2 separate regions of the Homo sapiens genome follow, and region 1 is linked to region 2. The links are contacts of gene promoters, found by promoter capture Hi-C in blood cells and fetal thymus (Javierre and others, 2016). All regions are on one chromosome and are shown on one strand. The core of a region is centred on a gene start or on the middle of the fragment in contact, and the rest is flanking DNA. Distances in the headings are between cores, read along the strand shown.

The links. The method cuts DNA at HindIII sites, captures the fragments that hold promoters and counts their contacts. A CHiCAGO score of 5 or more calls a contact.
Region 1: a contact is called between the fragment with the promoter of TSPEAR-AS1 here and the fragment with the promoter of SLC19A1 in region 2, in 3 of 17 cell types (M0 macrophages, erythroblasts and total B cells). The highest score is 5.8, in M0 macrophages.

What each region holds. Positions count from the first base shown.
Region 1 is chr21:44,502,992-44,508,523 of GRCh38, reverse strand. It overlaps TSPEAR-AS1 (TSPEAR antisense RNA 1), which reads right to left and starts at 2,480. Exons shown (of 7, transcript NR_103707.1): 1 at 2,196-2,480; 2 at 1,425-1,877; 3 at 215-487. TSPEAR (thrombospondin type laminin G domain and EAR repeats) reads left to right here. Exons shown (of 12, transcript NM_144991.3): 11 at 3,643-3,744. RefSeq lists enhancers at 1-137, 4,843-5,362. The HindIII fragment of the contact is 6,455 bases long and covers 56-5,532 here.
Region 2 is chr21:45,539,372-45,546,259 of GRCh38, reverse strand. SLC19A1 (solute carrier family 19 member 1) reads left to right here and starts at 3,820. Exons shown (of 6, transcript NM_194255.4): 1 at 3,820-3,892. RefSeq lists silencers at 3,547-3,626, 3,667-3,976, 4,327-4,386 and an enhancer at 3,180-3,692. The HindIII fragment of the contact is 3,738 bases long and covers 813-4,550 here.

The sequences.
Region 1 (5,532 bases), core at 1,231-3,730, 1.0 Mb after region 2:
CTGCAATCGAATCCGTATTACCCAGATCCCAGAGCCAGGGGCCATGGGTCAAGCTTGGAGCTGGAATCTGGCCCATTCCCATCCTGGGATGGAGCAGGCGGCTTTCCCAGGTTTCCTCGGGTTTCATGCACTCCTATTTCATTCGGTAACAATTCACCTGCCCCTCCTGGGCACTGGGCTCTAATCTCAGCTTGAGACACACAACAACACATACCTTTAGACCCTTCGAGGGGAAGAGTCTCCAAGATGAACTGCTCTGTGGAAAGGGCTGGGTGAGGTGCAGTGAAATCTTGTGTCCCCAGTGCGGAGGAGCGAGCCGGGCTGCTGTGTGCCGCTCAGCTGTGCGTGCCCACGGACGTGCAGAGAAGACTCGGGAAGGGAGTGCCCTCTCCGTCAGCAGTCACCCTAGGACCGGGAGGGCTGCAGGGGTATGTAGACAGGCCAGGAAGGACTTTCCCTATTTGCCCTGTTACTTCTGAACTCCTGGCTTTACAAAGGATGACAATGTTAACTTACTAATATCTTACTTATATGATTTTTAAAAATTAAAAAAAGAACACTCATAATAAAGAAAAAGAGCCAGCGGCGGTGTCTGCTGGGGGCACTGGGGATTCCGGGGTGACCTGCCTGTGGGCTCCGTGGCCCCTGCGTGGCCTGGCAGCCATGGCAGGAGAAACAGGCACGGGGCGGCGGTGGCAGTTGTGTGTCCCCAGCACGAATCCACGCCATCCAATGTCAACGCCGAGAACAAAACAAACATTAGGCTTTTTAGAACAACATTTAGAATAAGACAAGTTGGAGAATGAATTGTGATTAAAAATTAGTCATGGACATGATGCCCAGTCTAGAAACAGATGAGGCAGACGCCTCGGGATTTGAAAGCTGCGGGAACTGACAGAACACAGCTACACACTCGCGACTTATGGCCCTGTCACCACTGGACAGTGGTATGGACAGTTTATGAACTAAATTATGAAACACAGAAAGTACTTACCAATTAATTAAGGTAATGTTTAATAATTACCATCAAAACAGCACACACAAGTCAAACTCCTAGCCCTTCTACCCAGCATGGGGAATTCCCTACACTTCCCGGAGACGTGATGTGGCCTCACCAAGTCCAAAACCCTATTCAAGGGCGCTGAGGGGTTTTGTGGCTTCTGTGTGTAACCTTGGCTCTGACTGCCTTCAAATGGTCGCTTGTGTTTGCTTTTTAGATTCAGTAGTTCTATTAAATCCACAGATATGTGCAGCCATGGCTGCAGACAACTCTGGAACATTCTCATCCCCTCACAAGGAGCCCCCCACACCCTTTTCCAGCCCCTCCCTCCCAACTGGGCACCCCCGGGCCCACTTCCTGTCTCTGTGATTTCCCGTTCTGGACACTGCACAGAAATGGACTCGTAGAGCCGTGGCCTCTGTACCTGGCTTTTTCTCGCAGCACCGTGTCCTCCGGGTTGGTGGTGTGGCCGCGCGGCTCAGAGCATCCCCCTTCTCATGGCTGAGTCACACTTCATCCGTCCATTTGTCCGATGATGGGCATTTGCCAGAGGGCGTGATTCTGAAGAATAACATCTGTCCTACAGCGAGTGTGACCCAGGGCTGCTTTGGAGGCAGAATCGGGCACTAGATGCCTTATTTTGTGGTGAAACCGAAGCCGGCTTCTGATGTGAGCCTCGGTGCAGCCGGACAGGATCTTCCACCACTGGTACATCCGACGTGGCCGCTTGTCTTCCTCGGGTCTGGGTTTCAGAGCTCAGATCCGACTGAGGAGTAACCCCGCGGATTCACACTGACCCGGGGCCCGCGGCCGTGCCTCCAGACCAGAGCATGTGATCACAGGCGTCCTCGTCCTCCTCCCAGCGAGCTGGCACGGGCTGCATGGGAACCAAATCATAACCCACCATTAATGGAGGTGGCTCCAGATGTCACCCTGACTGACCGAAGGAGTGAGGAGCCCAAGGCCCCATGGGCTCTGCCCGCCCTGCCTGTCACTGGACACCTCTGTGATCCCTCCCTCTCCCAAGGCCCTGTCTGAGCCCCTGCTGCAGGCCGGCCCCACAACTGCCTGCAGGGAAGCACCGGGATGAGGCCCCTCTGCTGCCTGAACTGGCCACAGCCCTGAGGCTGCTGAATACAGAGGCACCCGCCTGGCCTGCATGTCAGCAGGACGCCTGCGTGTGCATGGCTTCGACCTCCATTTCCTCATCTTGAGATGTGGGGCTGACGCTGACAGCTCGGCAGGTGGGCTCCTGGGGAGGAAAGGATCCAGGGGAGCCGCTCCTCAGACCCCTCAAACCGAGCCATCCCCAAGCACAGATGCATCCTTGGTAAATTCAGGTGAGACTCCTAAGACAGGACACAGCAAATTTGTTTGCAACAAGAAACAGCTTCTGCTTCTAGGAGAACATCTGTGAACGAGCAGGTCCTGCAGGTCCTGTAGGCACCTCCTGGAGTGACCTCACGGCCGCTGACCTCACAGCTGAAGACACAATGCTGAGAGAAGAAACCAGGCACAGAGGCCACAGCACTGTGACGCCATTTCTGCACAGTGTCCAGAGCGGGAAACCAAGCTCCTGCCTCCAGCAGGCACCAGCAGCCTGAGACTTTTTCTCTGATTGTTTCAACCTCTTAAAAGTGGACTTTTGTACCCCGGTGTTCATAGCAGCAGCATTCACAGTAGCCACATGGAGGAAATTCCCCAAGTGTCTGTCAGCGGATGGACAAACACAACGTGTCCATTCACACAGCGGAGCGTTACTCGGCCTTAGAAAGGAAGGCGATTCTGACACACAGTGCGACACGGATGAACCTTGAGTCACTGGAGTCTCAGCTAAGGCAGACACAAAGGACAAATACCGTGCGATTCCATTCATATGAGGTCCCTAGAGTGGTCAAATTCATAGAGACAGAAAGTGGCGTGGTGGGTGCCGGGGCTGGGGGGGGGGGGGGGGGGAGGGGGGAGGGGGTGATGTTTACTGGGTGCAGAGCTTCGGTTTTGCAGGATGAAGGCGTTCTGGAGGTGGATGGTGGGGGCGGCCACACAGCAGTATGAATGTGCTTAATGCCCCTGATCTGTGCACCTAAAGATGGTTGAGGTGGGAAATGTTATGTTATATGTATTTTACCATAATTTAAAATTTGAGGCCAGGCATGGTGGCTCATGCCTGTAATCCCAGCACTTTGGGAGGCTGAGGTGGGCAGATCACTTGAGGTCAGGAGTTCAAGACCAGCCTGGACAACATGGTGAAACCCTGTCTGTACTACAAATACAAAAATTAGCCGGGCGTGGTGCCGCACACTTGTAATCCCAGCTACTCGGGAGGCTGAGGCAGGAGAATCGCTTGAATCCGAGAGGCAGAGGTTGCCGTGAGCCGAGATCTCGCCACTGCACTCCAGCCTGGGTGACAGAATGAGACTCCATCTCAAAAATAAAATAAAATAAAATTTGAAATTTTTTTTAAGCAAACAACTAATTTACATTTTCCTGGAATAGACCAACACATATGTGACTGTGAGAAAATCACTCCCCACTTTGGCCCCGGCTCCTCCTCTATAAATTTTGGAGGTAGCTTCTGGCCAATCCCCCAGTTCCCTGGCGATGTCTGTTGTGTCCTAATATCCACCCACTTGTTCCTGCAGTGCTCTGGACTGGGAGTTTTTCTCGGTGGGAGAAGATTATTTCCTGGTGGTGGCCAACTCCTTCGATGGGCGTACCTTCTCGGTGAACAGTATTATTTACAGGTAATGAGCTGCCGAGGCCGGCCTCCTCCCAGAGCCTTGCTTCCCCACTGTGGGCTCACCGAGGCCGGCCTCCTCCAAGAGACTTGCTTCCCCACTGTGGGCTCACCGAGGCCGGCCTCCTCCAAGAGACTTGCTTCCCCACTGTGGGCTCACCGAGGCCGGCCTCCTCCAAGAGACTTGCTTCCCCACTGTGGGCTCACCGAGGCCGGCCTCCTCCAAGAGACTTGCTTCCCCACTGTGGGCTCACCGAGGCCGGCCTCCTCCCAGAGCCTTGCTTCCCCACTGTGGGCTCACCGAGGCCGGCCTCCTCCAAGAGCCTTGCTTCCCCACTGTGGGCTCACTGAGGCCAGCTTCCTCCCAGAGCCTTGCTTCCCCCGAGGGCTCACCGAGGCCAGCTTCCTCCAAGAGACTTGCTTCCCCCGAGGGCTCACCGAGGCCAGCTTCCTCCCAGTGCCTTGCTTCCCCCTAAGGGCTCACCGAGGCCGGCTTCCTCCCAGAGCCCTGCTTCCCCCTGAGGGCTCACCGAGGCCAGCTACCCCCCGAGGGCTCACCGAGGCCGGCTTCCTCCCAGAGTCTTGCTTCCCCACTGTGGGCTCACCAAGGCCGGCCTCCTCCAAGAGACTTGCTTCCCCACTGTGGGCTCACTGAGGCCGGCTTCCTCCCAGAGCCTTGCTTCCCCACTGTGGGCTCACCAAGGCCAGCTTCCCCCCAAGGGCTCACCGAGGCCAACTTCCTCCCAGAGCCTTGCTTCCTGCTGAGGGCTCACCGAGGCCGGCTTCCTCCCAGAGCCTTGCTTCCCCGCCGAGGGCTCACCAACTCCGGCCTCCTCCCAGAGCCTTGCTTCCCGCCGAGGGCTCACCGAGGCCAGCTTCCTCCCAGCACATTGCTTCCCCCCTGTGGGCTCACCAAGGCCGGCTTCCCCCCAAGGGCTCACCAAGGCCGGCCTCCTCCCAGCGCCTTGCTTCCCCCCGAGGGCTCACCGAGGCCAGCTTCCTCCCAGAGCCTTGCTTCCCCCCGAGGGCTCACCAACTCCGGCCTCCTCCCAGAGCCTTGCTTCCCGCCGAGGGCTCACCGAGGCCGGCTTCCTCCCAGAGCCTTGCTTCCCCGCTGTGGGCTCACCAAGGCCGGCTTCCCCCCAAGGGCTCACCAAGGCCGGCCTCCTCCCAGCGCCTTGCTTCCCCCTGAGGGCTCACCGAGGCCAGCTTCCTCCCAGCACATTGCTTCCCCACTGTGGGCTCACCAAGGCCGGCTTCCCCCCAAGGGCTCACCAAGGCCGGCCTCCTCCCAGAGCCTTTCTTCCCCCCGAGGGCTCACCGAGGCCGGCTTCCTCCCAGAGCCTTGCTTCCCCCCGAGGGCTCACCAACTCCGGCCTCCTCCCAGAGCCTTGCTTCCCGCCGAGGGCTCACCGAGGCCGGCTTCCTCCCAGAGCCTTGCTTCCCCCCGAGGGCTCACCAAGGCCGGCCTCCTCCCAGAGCCTTGCTTCCCCCCGAGGGCTCACCGAGGCCAGCTTCCTCCCAGCACACTGCTTCCCCCCGTGGGCTCACCAAGGCCGGCCTCCTCCCAGCGCCTTGCTTCCCCCCTGTGGGCTCACCAAGGCCGGCTTCCACCCAAGGGCTCACCGAGGCCGGCCTCCTCCCAGAGCCTTGCTTCCCCCCGAGGACTCACCGAGGCCGGCCTCCTCCCAGAGTCTTGCTTCCCCCTGAGGGCTCACCGAGGCCAGCTTCCTCCCAGAGCCTTGCTTCCCCCCGAGGGCTCACCGAGGCCGGCTTCCTCCCAGCACCTTGCTTC
Region 2 (6,888 bases), core at 2,571-5,070:
TCCTCTGGGCTTTGCTTCTCCGCTCAGCTGCCACAGGGCTTCTGGCTTCTGGCTTCACAGACAAGGTGCTGAGGACGGTGGCCCGGCTCAGCCTCTGAGAGGATGGGGGCCACAGCTGCAGGCAGGCCTGGGCTTGGGGCTAGTGCTGGGAGGCCTGACACAGGGGCATCCATGTCAGTCCCCCTTCTCCAGACCTTTGGGCCCCTAGGCCCTTGTGATGGGCTACCCCTGGCCGCTGGGAGTGTTAGGAGGTCAGCTCGTGGAAAAAGTGGGGGCGAAGGCCTGGCGGGAGTGGGGGCTGGAGAGAGGGGCAGCTGCAGCAGAGACCCACTGGCCAGCAAGCCAGGTAAGGCATTTACAGGGCGCACCGCACCTCTACCAAGCAGATTCAGATGGGAGCAGAAGCACCTGTCATTCAGCAAGGTGAGACTGGGGAGACGTCTGGAAATGTGGGAGGAAAAACTGGCTGAGGCCATGTGCAGGCCAGTTCACTGCACATGCTGGGGCATGGCAGGCCGGTCCGCGCCCGTCTTCCTGCATATGGGGTGCCGTCTGCACGGGAGCATGCATGTGTATGTCTCTGTATCTCTGTGTCATGTGTATGTCTGTATGTTTACGTCTCTGTATCTGTGCATATGTCTTGGTGGTGTCTGTACGTGTGTGTACGTATGAGGGGGGCTGTTTTTGTGTTGCTATAAAGGAACACAGAGACTGGGTATCATAAAGAAAATAGGTGTAATTGGCTCACGGTTCTGCAGGCTGTACAGGAAGCATGGTGCCAGCATCTGCTCCTGGTGAGGCCTCAGGAAGCTTCCACACATGGTGGAAGGTGACGGGGAGCCAGCGTCACATAGCAAGAGTGGGAGGAGGGGAGGGCAAGGGGGGGGTCCCGGACTCTTTTAAACAACCTGCTCTTGAGTGAGCTAACTGAACAAGAACTCACTCATCACCAAGGTGATGGTGCTAAGCCATTCATGAGGGATCCGTCCTCATGATCCAACACCTCCCGCCAGGCCCCACTTCCAACACTGGGAATCACATTCCAACATGAGATTTGGAGGGGACAGAGAATCCAAACCACATCAGTGTGTGTGCGTGTCTGCGCATGTCTGTGTCCATCTGCATGTGCACGTCTCTGCACGTCTGCATGGATCTGTGTGTCTCTGTGCATGTGTGTCCATGTATTAGCATTTGGTCCAAGCCTTGCTTCCAGAGCCACAGCCACCACAACAGCACCAGCTGAGGGAAAGGGCTGCTCGAATGCCACTGCCTCCCTATGCTGACGGGGACCTTAACCACAGGGACAGCCCTGCGTCTCTCCAGCCAAGGCAGAGGACTGGCCGGTTGGTCTCAGAAGGCAGTGGGTGGGCAGGGTCCTCATTCTCTGGCAGAGATTTCTTGGGCCTGGACTATGGGTGCTAAGGCTGCCGGGGAGTGGGGGCCCAGGAGCTGGGGATGGGGCACTGCTGTGGGGTGGGCTGCAGAGCCCACCTGAGCCCCTCCAGGAGGGGAAGGGGTCTCTGCGGCCTGCAGCCCCCAGACATCACTGTATATGGCTGGAGCCTACAGGCTGGAGGGCCGGGATCCACACTGCTGGGCCCCTGCTGATCCCTCCAACCCAGGGCTTCTCCCAGGGACCAGCTCTCCCTGCCATCCCTGACGCTCAGGCACTTAACTATTTGACAAACCGATAATGAAACACGCAAGGACGGGGACCGCTGGAGGCTCGTGAGGGCCCAAGCACAGGATCCATTCCCAGATGCCAGTGTCACTCCCAAGTCACCTGCGTTTGTAAATCTCTATTTTGGGTGGAGCCCTCTGGAAGCCCACGCCCCACTGTCTGTGGCCACTCCTCGCAGTCCTCAATGGAGGTTTCTGTAAGTTCTTCACGAGTCTCCTGGCTCTTCCCTCAGAGCAGCTGCCTCTAGATTACAACTGCCAAGTGCTGTTGGTGGCAGAAGCCCTACCTCCCCACTCCGAAGCAGCTCCTGCAGGAAACCTGGGCCTTGTGTGGCTGGGGAACTCCCAGGACTCCTGCCACGCAGGGGGACCCGAGGGCAGCTTGGGCAGGCCCCTCGCGGCCGGGGGCGGATTCGCTCGGCTACACCTGACCGGAGAGACAGGTGAGGGACTGGTCTTTGTGGGTCCTGCGGGGTCCCCTTGGGGCTGTGGCTCCCTGCCTTGCTGTCTCCAGGCGGGAAGGGGGTGGGAGCCATCCTTCTGTGGGAAGGGGTCTAGGAGCCCCGCTGCTGTTCATCCCCACTTCCCCTCGGCTTCCTGGCCTGTCCTGCGTGTAAAGGGAGCAGGCTGCCCTGGCGAGCTGGCCCCATGGCTGGCTCCTCTCTGCCTGGAGGGAAGGAAGGGCCCCTCCTCCTCCGCGTTGCCCCTCCTGTCTTCCAGCAGGGCCAGGTTCTGCCCACCCGTGGAGAAGGCCAGTACAGGGGAGAGAGCCAGGGCTCCCACAAAGCAGGGGGTCCCTCCAGGTGAGGCGCTCCATCCTGTAGTGTTCCCTTAAATTCTGCAAGCTACCCCAGATCCCCCATTTCCAGCCAACAAATCCTTTTTAAGTTCCTTTGAGATTTGTTCGTGTGGCTTGCTACACTCAGGACTCTGGAAAGAAGGCCCAGGCCAGAGCTTTGGGCAGGCGGCCATTTAGGGCAAGGGCCCTGTGTTGGCTTCCTGGTGGGGTTGCCCTGCTGGTGGGCGGGAGACCAAGAGCACCCCCGCAACACCAGGAGGCAGGTCGCGGATTGTGCTGTCTACACTCCGGAAGGGGTACATTCCAGGGGCTGCTGCCCCAGACTCACCCCTCGCCTGGGACCCGCACTCTTGAGCTGTGGGTACCACGGTGGCCGTCCCCTTCTGTTCTGTGCAGTGGACTTCCTGGCTCCTCCTTAGCCTTGGGGCCCCCACAGCCCTCGGCTTGGCTTCCCTCCCCATAGCCAGGCCCTGGGTAACTCCAGGGGAAAGTGACCCTGAGGCCCCCCACTTCTCCCCGTGTCCTGCACAGGCCTTGGGCTTTCGGCGGTGCTGTCTGCCGCAGCCCCACGCCTTCCTGGGAGAGTGGCCCAGGCCCCCCTTCCTGAGTGTGACTGCGCTGCCGTCTGCGAGGCCTGCGCGGGTCTCCCCCGGGCTGTCCCTGCTGGGATGGGGACTGGTGGCCCCGGGCCACGTCCTGGATCCGGCTTGCTCCTTGGTACAAGCCCGTACGGGTCACGGTCAGGCAGGAGGGCGGGCGGCGGGGTCCCGGGGGCGCCGAGTTCGGGGCCGTGCGGTCCCCAAGAGCAGGCTGTGCGTGTCCCTGTTGGAGCCCCACGAAGGCGGCCCAGGGCCACCCCTGAGGGCGCGTGGGCCCGACCCGCGTCCCGGATCCAGCTTGCGGCCAGGAATGCAGGTGTTCCAGGGTGCCAAAAGGAAAACGCACAAGGCCTCGTCGAGGAGGGGGGGTCAGGAGGGGACCGGGGGTGGGAAGAACGCGGGGGAGAGGGATGGCAGGGTGCCCGCCCGAGGGACCGACACCTCCGCGAGTGGCACCCCAGGATGCTGACGCCGGCGGGGGTGGGGGCCCGAGGGGCGGTCGGGGTCAGGGGGCGGCCCCAGGGGTAGGGCCGCAGCACGAGGGGCCGCGTGACCCCGGCGGTGACCGGGTGGGGAGAGGCCGGCGCCGGGGCTGGGAGACGGCCGTGGGTGGGAGGGTGCCCCGTGGGGACGCTCCTGCCGCAGCGCCCGGCCACGCGCGAGGCCCCGCCCTCAGGACGCGTTCGGCGGGACGGACCCGCCCACCCCGCAGCCGCGCGCCCGCCGCGCCGCCTTGTGGGCGCTGTAGTCCCGGAGTCCGCGTGCGCGGGGCCGGGTCCGGGAGCCCCAGGGCAGCCGCCCCGCCGAGTCGCAGGTACCGGTGGGGAACGGGGCCACGGGGCCGCGTGTCGGGGGCTGCGGGGTGTCTCGGGGCCCTGGGGTGAGTGCGGGGCGCGGGCCGAGGTTTGCAGGGCCCTGTGAGGTGAGTGTGGGGGCTGGCGCTGGGGTCCGCGGGGCCCTGGGGAGGGTGCGGGGCGTGGGCCGGGGTCTGCGGTCTGCAGCCTGGGGTCCGCGGGGCCCTGGGGAGGGTGCGGGGCGTGGGCCGGGGTCTGCGGTCTGCAGCCTGGGGTCTGGGGGGCCCTGGGGAGGGTGCGGGGCGTGGCCGGGGTCTGCGGTCTGCAGCCTGGGGTCTGGGGGGCCCTGGGGAGGGTGCGGGGCGTGGGCCGGGGTCTCCGCGGGGGTCGCGGTGGCCCGGGCGCCTGGCAGAACCGTTGCTGTGCAGCGGGTTTCCCGCCGCTCGCTTTCCGCCGCAGCCTGCGAATGGGGTGGGGAGTCCCGGCCCCCAGCCTGCCCTCCGCGTCATCCTGGGGCGCCAAGTCCCACCCCCGGGTCTGGAGGAAAGCGTGGATCCGGCGTTCGCGCCCAGGCACGTGTTGCTTCGGGACGGGCCAGCCGGTGGGTGAACCCTGCCAGCCACGCGTGGGGCGGGCCCCTGGCACATCTCCAGACCATTGTCTCCTGTGCCAGAAGCTTTGTAGGTGCAACTTCCCCTTGGAGCAGCTGTGGGTGCGGATCCAGCGGAGCAATCCCGAGGCGTCTCAGAGAGAGCCTGGACAGCCGCTGGAGCCTTTCCCGAGTGGGTCCTTCCAACACCGCTACAGCAGGAAAGCCATCCCCCTAGGGTCCTGTCCATCGGAAACTCCTGTCCTGGGGAGTCTGGCCTGCCTGGCCTCAGGACACAGGCCAACTAAGCTGGCCCCGAAATCCAGAATGCATCCAGAGGGAAGGTGGGATAAAGTCCTTGGAGGCGCCTGTTGGCCGCCCTGTAAAGAGGTGGCCTCCCCCTACGGAGACCCGAGGATCCCCGCACAGCCCAGATTCAATCAGCAGAGCCGAGGTGCCTCTGGCCCAGTGCACCTGCCTGCCCTGTCCAGGCCTGGGAGCCAGGCTGCATCTCACTGGCCGCCTTTGCCTGGGTGCCACCTGTGCACTGCTTGTTGCAATTGCTAATTGCTTTCTTTCCGAAGGGGCTTTGGTGGATTTTTATAATTCCAGATAGTACAGTTATCTCTGCTGGACACAGATGAGAAAGAGTGCTTCTCGGGTGTTTGGGCCTGCAGCAGTGATAGCCGGAGGGTCTAATTATGCTGTTAGGAACCCTGAACTTGGTCATCTGAACAGGGGTGGGAGGGTGTGCAATGCTTTCTTCTTCTTCTTTTTAAACTAGCAGGCGTTCTAAAAAACATAACGAACATTCTTGGTTAGCCTTCCAGAGTAGGAGCTGGTTTAAACACGGAATGATAGGTGGCGTTTGCTTGTGTTTTGATTGCGGGTCTCTGGCCTTCTCTGGTGCTTGGAAGGACAGGGCCTGGGTGGGGCTGGTCACTGTGGACAGTGGGGCCGGGGATTTGCAGGGGCTGTTACAACCTTCTCCTGAAGGCAGGGATTCTCTCTGCTTCCCCGTGGCCCTCCTGTCTGGTCGGGGACTTCCTTCAGATGCCGGGAAGAGGCCTCAAGCTGTATGGGACTGGGCTGGGGTCTGGACACTTGGAGTCTAGGCGTCCCCTGGCTTGGGGCTGCGTTTCTATGATGGTGACCAAGTTCCCTATCTTTCCTCTTGGAGGTGGTCTGGGCCGTGATGGCCAAGCCTCTGTCAGTGGGCTACGTTCACGGCACATAAGTTGAGTATGCTGGCAGCAGAGGCTGACTGTTAAGACCAGCAGCAGCCCCTTGCTGGCGGAGACTCTGGCTGTCTCTCCAAGGAAGGAATGTTCTGGTCGCTTCTGGAGGTGGCACCTTTCAGAACAGGGGGCCCAAGTACCCAGGGCTCCCGGGCCCCTGGGGGTCCTGTGGGTGGGGATCTGACTCCTGCGGCCATGGACTGTGGGCGCAGACCCTGGGCTTAGTTCAGCTCCTGATGGCTCCCCGTTGTCTGCGGCGATCTGGTTGCTCTGGTTGTCTGGGGATCGGTGCGCCTGTCTAAACCTGCTGACAGGTGGGAAAGTGAACTTGACAGGGAGTCCCAGGGCCAAATGGGTCTCCCAGTGGGGAGGAGTGGGTGCGGTCTGAGGTATGTCCAGCTCTACCCGTGGCCTCTCTGGGCATCAGGGTCCCTGGTGATGGAGCCCAACCTTTGTGCACTGATCTTCCCAGCTGTTGACAGGCCCTGAGGAGGCATGGAAGGTGAGGCCGAGGCAGGCGACCGTCAGATCTGCCTCGGCCTGGCAGTGGCCCCTGCCTGCGCTTCCTCCTGCCTGGCCGGCTGTTTTCATCCTGGCCCTTTGAGAACTTCTAGGGTCCTGGCTGCCTCCAATGGAGGGTGCTGGTCCCATCTTCTTCCCAGCTGTGCCCTGCCGTGGAGCTCCGGAAACCTCGAGGTTCCCCTAACCCTTCCCCCTCTTCCCTGCGGCCCCCATTGCAAGCCCACCAGCCTCTGCCTCTTAAGGGCTTCCCTGCCATCACCTATGTTCCTTTGTCACAGACATGAGTGTGTAGAGGTGTCAAGACGGGACCCCAGATGATGCTGATGGCTTTGCCTAAGTGGCCTGGGGAGGGTCTCTCTCTCTGGTCCCTGAAGGCCACCTTTTTCCTAAGCCTGTGTGTCAGGTTGGGGGCGGTTCAGGGAGCACTTCCAGCCTGAGTGGTCTCTGATACGTGAAGACTGAATGCTGAGAGCCTGGGGCAGATTTTCCTAGGGGTCCCTGGACCCCCAAAGCTGGCCCCACATCGAGGGATGCTCTGAGCCCCTGCTGGAGGGTTGGAGGAGACTTCTCAAATCCAGACCCTCTGCAGACCCCCTGCCACCCTCCCAAGCCGGCCCTGTGGCGAGGCACAATTGTCCAACTGTCAGCCCAGTGCAGATGGGACGGC